3 separate regions of the Homo sapiens genome follow, and all the other regions are linked to region 1. Evidence: promoter capture Hi-C in 16 types of primary human blood cells and fetal thymus (Javierre and others, 2016). All regions are on one chromosome and are shown on one strand. The core of a region is centred on a gene start or on the middle of the fragment in contact, and the rest is flanking DNA. Distances in the headings are between cores, read along the strand shown. Region 1 holds the start of DEFB123 (defensin beta 123). Region 2 holds the start of LINC00028 (long intergenic non-protein coding RNA 28). Region 3 holds the start of DEFB119 (defensin beta 119).

Region 1 (3,023 bases), core at 77-2,576:
TTCAATGTTGTTCCCTCAACCTGATATTATTACACACTTGATGTTATTGCAGTTTGAGAAATGAGGAAATTGATACTCTGAGCAGCTGAGCTTCTTGTTGGGGCTCACAGAGTCAGAAAATGATGGGGCAGGTTTTAACCCGGGGTCTGGGCTTTCCTCCCTACTCCAGGTGAGTGGTGTTTTAGGGCCTCAGGAAGACACAAGGACGGAGGTCAGCTTGTTTAGGAAATTCACACGTTTCTGACTCTGTAGAAAGGTTAGCCGACAGCCTTAGGGTGGGTGGAAACTTCTGCCAGATGAGCAGGAAGGGATAGGTGGCTCATGCTGGAATTGGTGGGTGGTAGGTCTGACCAGGGTCTTTCTCTGTTTAAACCTTCCCATGGGTCCCTCACCTGGCATTTGAGGCCCACTGAGACCTGGAGCTTGAATGCTTCCTCAGCTTTACCCCCGCCTCTCTCCTAACCCACCCCTCCATGTTATGCAGGTCCCCGACACTCCCATGCTCTCTCCCGCATCCAACCTTTGCATAGGCTGACCTCTCTGCCTGGGACACCCTTCTGCTTTCCCCTCTCCTTCCTTTTCTATTTTCGACTCACTTTTTAGGACTCAGGATATCCCTCCAGGAGGACTCTCCTTTCCCTCAGCCTGGGCTGGACCATGTGTACCCAGCCCCCTGGTTTCCCACTGCCACAGCCGTGTCACCCTGGGTTATAAATGCTATTTAACTGTCTCCTCCAGTTAGTTCCCCTGGCACCATGTCATTTATCTCCGTGGTCCTAGCTTCCAGCGCAGAGTCTGGCACAGAGACAGCTAAGTACAAATGAGCTTTCTCTCCCATTAAGGTAGCTGTGATCTTCACAAAGCTTCGTTCATTCTGGGGACTATTTTGCAAAAGGGCCATACCTGCCTCTCCTCTTTCCTGCTTCTCTTGCTCACCCCTCCCACTCCTCCTCACACACTAGGCCACCCCCACATGCTCCCTGGAGCTGGGCAGGAAGAGGAGGGATGGAGCCGCTGAGAGAGCAGCTCTGGATGTTGTAGTTGTCATCTATCAGCTGGCACCTGCTGCTGGTGAGGCGCCTCCTGCCTCCTATACGTGGTGCTAGATGACAACCTGCAGCCCATCCTTCTAGCCCTTGGGATTCTCTGACCAGGCCTTAGTCTCTAAGCCCTGCCCCTTCCTTAAGGAGGTTCAGGTTACCTGGAGTCAGCTGGGATAAGAGCAGCAGCACAGTCAAAGTCAGCAAAAGGAGCTTCATGGCTAAGGCAGCCCAAAATGAAGCTGCAAGTCCGATGCCACGGCTGAGCTAATGGGAGAAGGAGAGTGCCTGGCCTGTGGCTCGCACTCCCTCAGCTGCCCACGGGTACAGCCCTCACACTCTGACTGGACACCCCTCCCTTTGTCATTTAGGTCAGCAGGGAGAGGACAGCCAACAAGGTCCAGGGCCCAAGACTTAATATACTACCCGTTCCTTCCACCCAGCTCCAAACTGCCTGAACCCAGTGACCAGCAGGAGGCGCCACAAACACCGGCTCCGGAAGGTCAGGGAAGACGGCAGAGTTTTGAAGAATAAATACAAAGCAACAGGTAGATGAGCTGAAATGGGGTTCCAGGTGGAGGAATGTCTGTACAAAGGCTCATGTTGGTGTTGAAAATGAGAAATATGACATAACCAGAGCAAAAACTGAGAGGAAAACGGCAGAAAGAGATGAAGCTCCGAGCACCAGCCTGTCTGTCACAGCCCCCTGCTGGGTTCTAACATGCGGTGGCCCTCCCCCTAGGGTCATCCTTCCGCTTCCTCAGAGATCTGAGAACCAACCACTCAGAATCCTTCTTCTGAACTCGGGTTTTGAAAACTCATTCTTGGCCGGGCACGGTGGCTCACGCCTGTAATCCCAGCAGTTTGGGAGGCCAAGGTGGGTGGATCACTTGAGGTCAGGAGTTCGAGACCAGCCTGGCCAACATGGTGAAACCCCATCTCTACTACAAATACAAAAAGTAGCCAGGTGTGGTGGTGCATGCCTATAATCCCAGCTACTTGGGAGGCTGAGGCAAGATAATCGCTTGAACCTGGGGAGGCTGTGGTGAGCCGAGATCGCGCCACTGCACTCCCGACTGGGCGACAGAGCAAGACTCTGTCTCAGAAAAGAAAAGAAAAGGCATCTCTTTCCTTTAGTTCCCTCAGCCCTCGGGTGGTAGCTGCATCCTGTAGTTACTGTTTCTCTGACTGGACCCTGCTTGAAACAGATGTCAAGGGTATAATAGCATACAGAGGGATTACAAGGGAAAAACAACAACAACAACAACAACAGTGAAAGCCATTTCTGTAGGGGCAGAAAACAGTCAATGGGGTTGAAAACTGAAAGGTAAGTGAAACAGTGAGGTCAGCAAGTGTAAATAATTCTTTCTAAAACCCTTACAATGAAGAGAAGAAGAGACACTGGCTAGGAAGGGACTCAGTGGAAAGCCTGGAAGTCCACCTTTCCTGTGCTGTTCATTTTTGGTAAGGAGGCTCATTTCATTTCTTTTTTTTTCTTAATTTTAAAAACTATTTTTTATCTTTTTGTTTTTGTTGTTGTTTTGGATACAGGGTCTTGCTCTGTTGCCCAGGCCTGGAGAAATAATGTATCTGTTGGATTCTTTTCTCCCTAAAAGAAGAGATTTTCCCACTGCCTGAAATGCCAGGATATATGGAGGATTTTTGTATTGAGAGTGACAGCAGAGTTGAAAATATTGGGTAACTAGTCCTGACACTGCTACTAGCTTTCTATGTGACCTTGGAAGAATTACTTTTTTTTTTTTTCTGGGTCTCAATCTCTTCAATTAAGGATTTGGGGCAGATGTGCAGTAGGGATCAATATATCCATCATATTATATGGTTTTCTATATAAAAGACACAGAAAGTAAAAGAATGCAGCAATCCAGGTTTTCAACACCAAAACAGGGCAAGGTAATTGGGTTTTCAGATAAGGATTCTCTAGCCTGCCCTTATCAGCCCCCAAGTCTCTGAACCACTTATATC
Region 2 (2,776 bases), core at 199-2,698, 45 kb before region 1:
TTTACAGGTAATGGATAATGAATTAATGGATATCTATTAATGGATAATGAATTAATTCATTCAACAAATATTTACTGAGCACCTATTATGAGCCAGGCACTGTTGTAGGTGCTGGGATCAGAGCAGCACTGAGGGCCCTTCCCTCAAGGAGCTTTCATTCCTGTGGGGCAGACAGACAAAAACATGTGAATACATATGCCAGGCAGAGACTCATAAGCAGGTCTTCACAGTCTCAGAATATCTTACCTTTAACAAATCCTGGTTTCTGCAAGGCCTTAAGATATGATAGCAGGGTGAGACCCAGTGGCTCATGCCTGAAATCTCAGCACCTTGGGATGTTGAGGTGGGAGCATCTCTTGAGCTCAGGAGTTTGAGACCATCATGGGCAACACAGCAAAACTTTGTCTCCTCTAAAAATTAAAAAAAAAAAAAATTAGCTGGGCATAATGGCATGTGCCTGTAGTCCCAGCTACTTGGGGTGCTGAGGTGGGAGGATGGCTTGAGCCTGGGAGGTGGAGGCTGCAGCGAGCTGTGATCGCGCCACTGCATTCCAGCCTGGGCAACAGAGTGAGACCCTGTTTTTTTTTTTTTTTTAAAAAAAGAAGATATGCTAGCGGGAGCCCACATTTATTGAATCTTCTTAGACACGGAAAGTGTCTTAAGCATTTTACACAACTTGAATCATTTAATCCTCACATCGACCCTAAAGGAAAGAATTGTCATGAATCCTGTTTTATAGATGGAGAAACTAAGGCATGGAGAGATGGAGGGGAGCGGGGTTTGAACACACACCCCCTGGTTCAGGGCAGTGCCCTCAATCACCCTGCCATCTTGCCGTGCTAGCTGCATAACTCTCCTTCCCTCAACACCTCCCACCTTCCCATCTTGGTCTGCACCAGTTCTTTCTTCCCTCCCCCTTTCCTCCCTTATCCCGTTCTCAAGTATTTCTTCCACATTCTGAGTAGCCTGGGGTAAGCTCTCTCTCTCTCTCTCTCTCTCTCTCTCTCTCTCTCTCTCTCTCTCTCTCTCTCTCTGTCTCTCTCTCTCTCGCCCTCAGTTTTCCTATCTGAGGATGGAGGATTGGACTGGATTATCTTCAGGTCCTTCCCTGACCACTCTAATTTTCAGCTCCTTATAAGTTTGTGATTCTTTTATTTGCTGATTTGTTTTCTAGTCTCCCAGCCCACCCTACTGTGAGCTACCGAGCAGTGAGCTCCCTCTTTCTGTTCACCACATCTCCCCAGAGCCTGGCACTGTGCCCGGCACTTAGTAGGCCCTCAATAAATACTTGTAGATGAAGAAAGGAGGGGATGAGGGCGATTGTACTCAGTTTTCTAAAGCCAGCTCCTGCACTGTCTCCCTGGCCCCTCTTCTTTTCTCAGCTCTTCCCCCTCCCCACTTCCCTCCCGCCCTCTCACCTCCCAGGGCCCACTCCGGCCCTCCATCCGGCCTGCATTTTTCCGGGTTTGATATCATTTTTTCCACTCTCCCGGCTGCTGCCGGCCGCCTCTGCCAACTTTCCACAGCTAGAGCCCCTCCCCCTGACCGCAGGCCGGAGACAGCTTGGGGTGGGGGAAGACCTTCCTTCTTTTCCCTTCCCCAGGCTGGGGTTGGGGTGTGGGAGTGAGTGCCATCCATCCCCGTTGGAAGGCTGGGGTGCGGGGATTCGCGGCTGGAGGACGCTGCTGGCTGGCTGGCGGGTGCTGCGGTCTTTCTCTGCACCGCGTCCCCCGGGGCTGGGGCGTCTGGGATAGTTGGGGGAAGGGATGTCCGGCGTCAGGGACACGATGGTCCAAACGGTTTGCGTCTTGTTTTCTTCTCAAAGCAGTGACACCCCTTCCCTTCGGGCTGGAAACTCCTGACCTGATCCCCAACACCCAGCCCTGACCCCAGCCAGGCTGGACGCCTCACCACCTCCTTCCTCCCGCACAGCCAAAGGGAGACCCAGGAGGAGGCTGGGCCCTGGGGTGTAATCCTCCCTGGCTGGGTGACTCTGGCATGCTCACCTCCCCTCTCTAGGCTTGTTTCTGCCTTCGGGAAATGAGTGAGTTGGATTAAACTGGGGTCCATCCCGGGGATTAATGCATTGAGTTTCATAGAGCTCCTGCCCCAACCTCCTTTAAATTGGATGCGAAATTATGTTTTTAAATTCGTTTTGCCAAGATTCTATAGGGTTTTGTATCATGTTTAAAGTGGACAATGGATATGTTGGTCACTAGAGTCTGACAAGCCTGGGCTGGAATCCCGGCAACTTCGCGTATAGCAGCTGTATGATCTTGGGTGAGCCTTCGGTGTCCTCTGCCTCAGTTTACTAACGAGCAAAATGGGGTTAATCGGAAACCCTTCTCCCAGGTGTTGGGAGGAATAATTGTTGTGACAGCTTAGTACACAGCTCCCAACAAACGCCAGCAATTCTATTGCCAGGATGAGTACTGAGGTCCTTCCAGACATGTGAATCTAGAACGTAAAACATGGGTTAATGAGAAAGTAGCTGGTCACGGAACTGTGGTTGTGATCCACTGTTGAGAGAAGGGCCTGAGCACAAAACTGGTCCAAGTACTTTATTGATGCGCCCTGACGCCCAGGCCAGCAGGCCAGACCAGTCTACAGTCAAGTGTAGATGGGAGGGCAGTAGGTGGAGACGCCTGGAAGAGCCGAGATGGAGAGGTCTGGGCATTCAGATGGGACATCCTTCTGGTCTGGTTTATTGTGAGGGTTTCTGAGGGTTGGCCAGAGCCCAGGGACAAGGAAGATTTTTTTACAAAAAGACACCCAC
Region 3 (2,807 bases), core at 295-2,794, 50 kb after region 1:
TGAAACTTCTGAGTGGTGTCCTTAAAGGGAAAGGTGTTGCATTTCACTTCCATCACTCCTCCTTTCCTGATGGCTGGATGGGAACTTGACGGTGGGAACTGGAGCAGCTCAGGGTCATCACATGATGCAGCCTCTTGAGGATGGCAGAGCATCAAGCCAAAAGGAACCTAGATCCCTGCTGAATGGTGAAGCTGTCACACTTAACTGCATACCCAGACTTTTACATAAAAAAGAAATCCATGTCTGTCTTTTGGAATCATTCTTATTTGGGGGGAATATCAGTTAAAACAGTTGAATAAGTATCTTAATACACCAGGTGATGTTATGGGTACTGGGGTTATAAGCCAGGTTTCTGACATTCTAAGTGGAGAGACAAAAATCAAACATGTAAAATAAAATTTAAAAGAATAGATACATATATGAAGATCATAAACCAAGTTATTACAGTCCAGAGTGACTGTGGGTTGGAGTTACCGTTATCTAAGGTGGCCAGGGAAAGTCTCTCCAAGGAGGTGACATTTGGGATGATATGGAATGATGAGCAGGAGATTTTCATGGGAAGATTTGGAGAAAGAGCTTTACAGGGAGAACAGATGACAACTGCTAAGGCCCTGAACTGGAAACAAGATTGGCAAGTTCAAAGTTCTGAAAGACATTACACATGTGTATCCTTCTGTTAGAAAGCTGAGACACATGTGTATCCTTCTGTTAGAAAGCTGAGAATAAGTAATTCTCGTTTAATTTATTTTTTAAAATTTTTTTATTTTTATTTTCGAGATGGAGTTTTGCTCTGTCACCTAGGCTGGAGTGCAATAGCGTGATCTCAGCTCACTGCAACCTCTGCCTCCCAGGTTCAAGCAATTCTCCTGCCTCAACCTCCCTAGTAGCTGGGATTACAGGCACCTGGCTAATTTTTGTATTTTTAGTAGAGACGGGGTTTCACCATGTTGGCCAGGCTGGTCTCGAACTCCTGACCTTGTGATCTCCCTGTCTTCGCCTCCCAAAGTGCTGGGATTACAGGTGTGAGCCACCACACCTGGCCTGTTTAATTTAGTTTTTAAGATTTAAATATCTTTTAAACATTTATAGGAAAAAATATATTTTAAAACAGAACATAATCATGGAGAACAATATTGTCACCAAACATGACAAGACAGTTAATATAATAACAGCACTGAAGAGCTCTTGCAAATCAGCAAGTACCCAACAACACCCCAATAGAATTGTCCAGATATCTGACTAAATAATTCAAAAGGAAGAAACAAAGAGACAAATACATGTGTTGAATAAATGTTCTTACTATTTATCAGAGAAGTGCAAAGTAATTTTTAAGTTAAATATTTCTTGATATGTATTTATTATGCATTAATTAATTCCTTTGTGGGTCTCACAGGCCAAATGGCTTTAATTGACCTGTCCCTTTACTGGCATTGGTACTGGCCAGTTTCCCACACTCTCATCTTGTGCTTTGCTGAGACATCTGCTACACACTGTCCTTTGGCCTGGATGACCTCATATAAATCCCCTCCTGTTCTAATTCACTGCCCACAGCCCTGCTGATAAAAGCAAAGCTCATCTCTGCCGTGCTGCAGGGAACCCTATTTCCTTCCCCTGCAGCTCAGCCACCTCCTCCTCTCAGGTCTGCCAGCCATGAAACTTCTTTACCTGTTTCTTGCCATCCTTCTGGCCATAGAAGAACCAGTGATATCAGGTAACGTGAACCTCTCTCGGGGGTCTGGGTTCCTGGTCATGGGCTTCCCGTCTTTCCCTTCCCTCTCACTGTGGGCATCATCTGAAGCCTTTCCTTCTCTCCTGCAGCTTCGGGAGGTTTGCCCAGGATCATCTCAAGTTAATATCTCTCTCTGATTCTTTTTTGCCAGAGTGGTGGGATGATAGATGTTTGGAGCATCTGGTGCTTGAGGGCCAGGGTGGTATCCTGGTGGGAGCTTGGGAGAGGTTTGAGGGGCAAAGCGTGGGTGCAGGTTGGGGACTTGTTGAGGACTTCGGGAGACTAGAGTGGAAGCTGGGGTGAGTTGTGATGTGGAGGAAAAACCTTGGGATTGGAGTGATAGAAGGAATATTAGGATGAGCTGGAGGTGAGGAGCTGGGCTTCCCTGATGGTTTAGGGCAGAGTTGGAGACAGGATGGGATTTGGGGTTGAGTGGAGCTGGTGTTGAGGATTAGGCTGGGGCTTGGGCTGAGGCTGGGAGTCGGTGCTGGATGCTGCAGGGTGATTGGGTTCAGCTTGGTCATGGCATACTGCTGGGAATTGAGGTTAGTGACTTGATTAGATTAGGGTTAGATTAGATTAGATTAGGGTTTGGCTTGGAGTTGGGGCTTGGGGGCATTGAGTTGAGTAAGGCTGGGAGTTCTAATTAAGGCAGGCCTGAATGAGTTTGAGTTTGAATTGGGTTAATATAGGGTCAAGGAAGATTGCAGATTGGGATGCGGCTGGAGCTGAGGCTTGTTGGGCTTATGTGAAATAGGGTCAGGTTATTGATAAGAAACAGGGTCTGTGTAATGTGAGTGAATCCTCTTCGTTCCCTAATATTACAGGTGATCATGTCCTTTTCCCTTCATCCCTAGCTCTGCTAGGTGGGACATTAATTAGCTTCAGTTGATTCCAAAGTAAGGAGTAGGAAGTTGGGGGCTAGGAAGACAGAAGGGTGAGAAGTCCAAAAAAGGCTCTCCCAAAAACTTCGGAGCTCTCAGTTGGAACCATTGTCTCAGTTCTCTTCCCTCTCAAGGTCTCTTCTCTCTTTTCCTGGGACTGGGTCTGGCATTACTCACTCAGCTGGCTTTCTTCT

What was found. Contacts are between HindIII fragments. The CHiCAGO score rates a contact against its expected background, and 5 or more counts as called.
Region 2: a fragment that was not itself captured here is called in contact with the fragment with the promoter of DEFB123 in region 1 in 1 of 17 cell types (M1 macrophages); the score reaches 5.7 in M1 macrophages.
Region 3: a contact is called between the fragment with the promoter of DEFB119 here and the fragment with the promoter of DEFB123 in region 1, in 2 of 17 cell types (M1 macrophages and naive CD8 T cells). The highest score is 6.3, in M1 macrophages.

Annotation. Positions count from the first base shown.
Region 1 is chr20:31,438,935-31,441,957 of GRCh38, reverse strand. DEFB123 (defensin beta 123) reads right to left here and starts at 1,326. Exons shown (of 2, transcript NM_153324.4): 1 at 1,202-1,326. The coding sequence starts at 1,259. The HindIII fragment of the contact is 4,618 bases long and covers 866-3,023 here.
Region 2 is chr20:31,484,666-31,487,441 of GRCh38, reverse strand. It overlaps REM1 (RRAD and GEM like GTPase 1), which reads right to left. Exons shown (of 5, transcript NM_014012.6): 5 at 2,547-2,776. It overlaps LINC00028 (long intergenic non-protein coding RNA 28), which reads right to left and starts at 1,664. Exons shown (of 4, transcript NR_024358.1): 1 at 1,419-1,664; 2 at 247-410; 3 at 83-160. The HindIII fragment of the contact is 5,037 bases long and covers 1-2,776 here.
Region 3 is chr20:31,389,327-31,392,133 of GRCh38, reverse strand. It overlaps DEFB119 (defensin beta 119), which reads left to right and starts at 1,544. Exons shown (of 2, transcript NM_153289.4): 1 at 1,544-1,711. The coding sequence starts at 1,651. The HindIII fragment of the contact is 16,203 bases long and covers 1-2,807 here.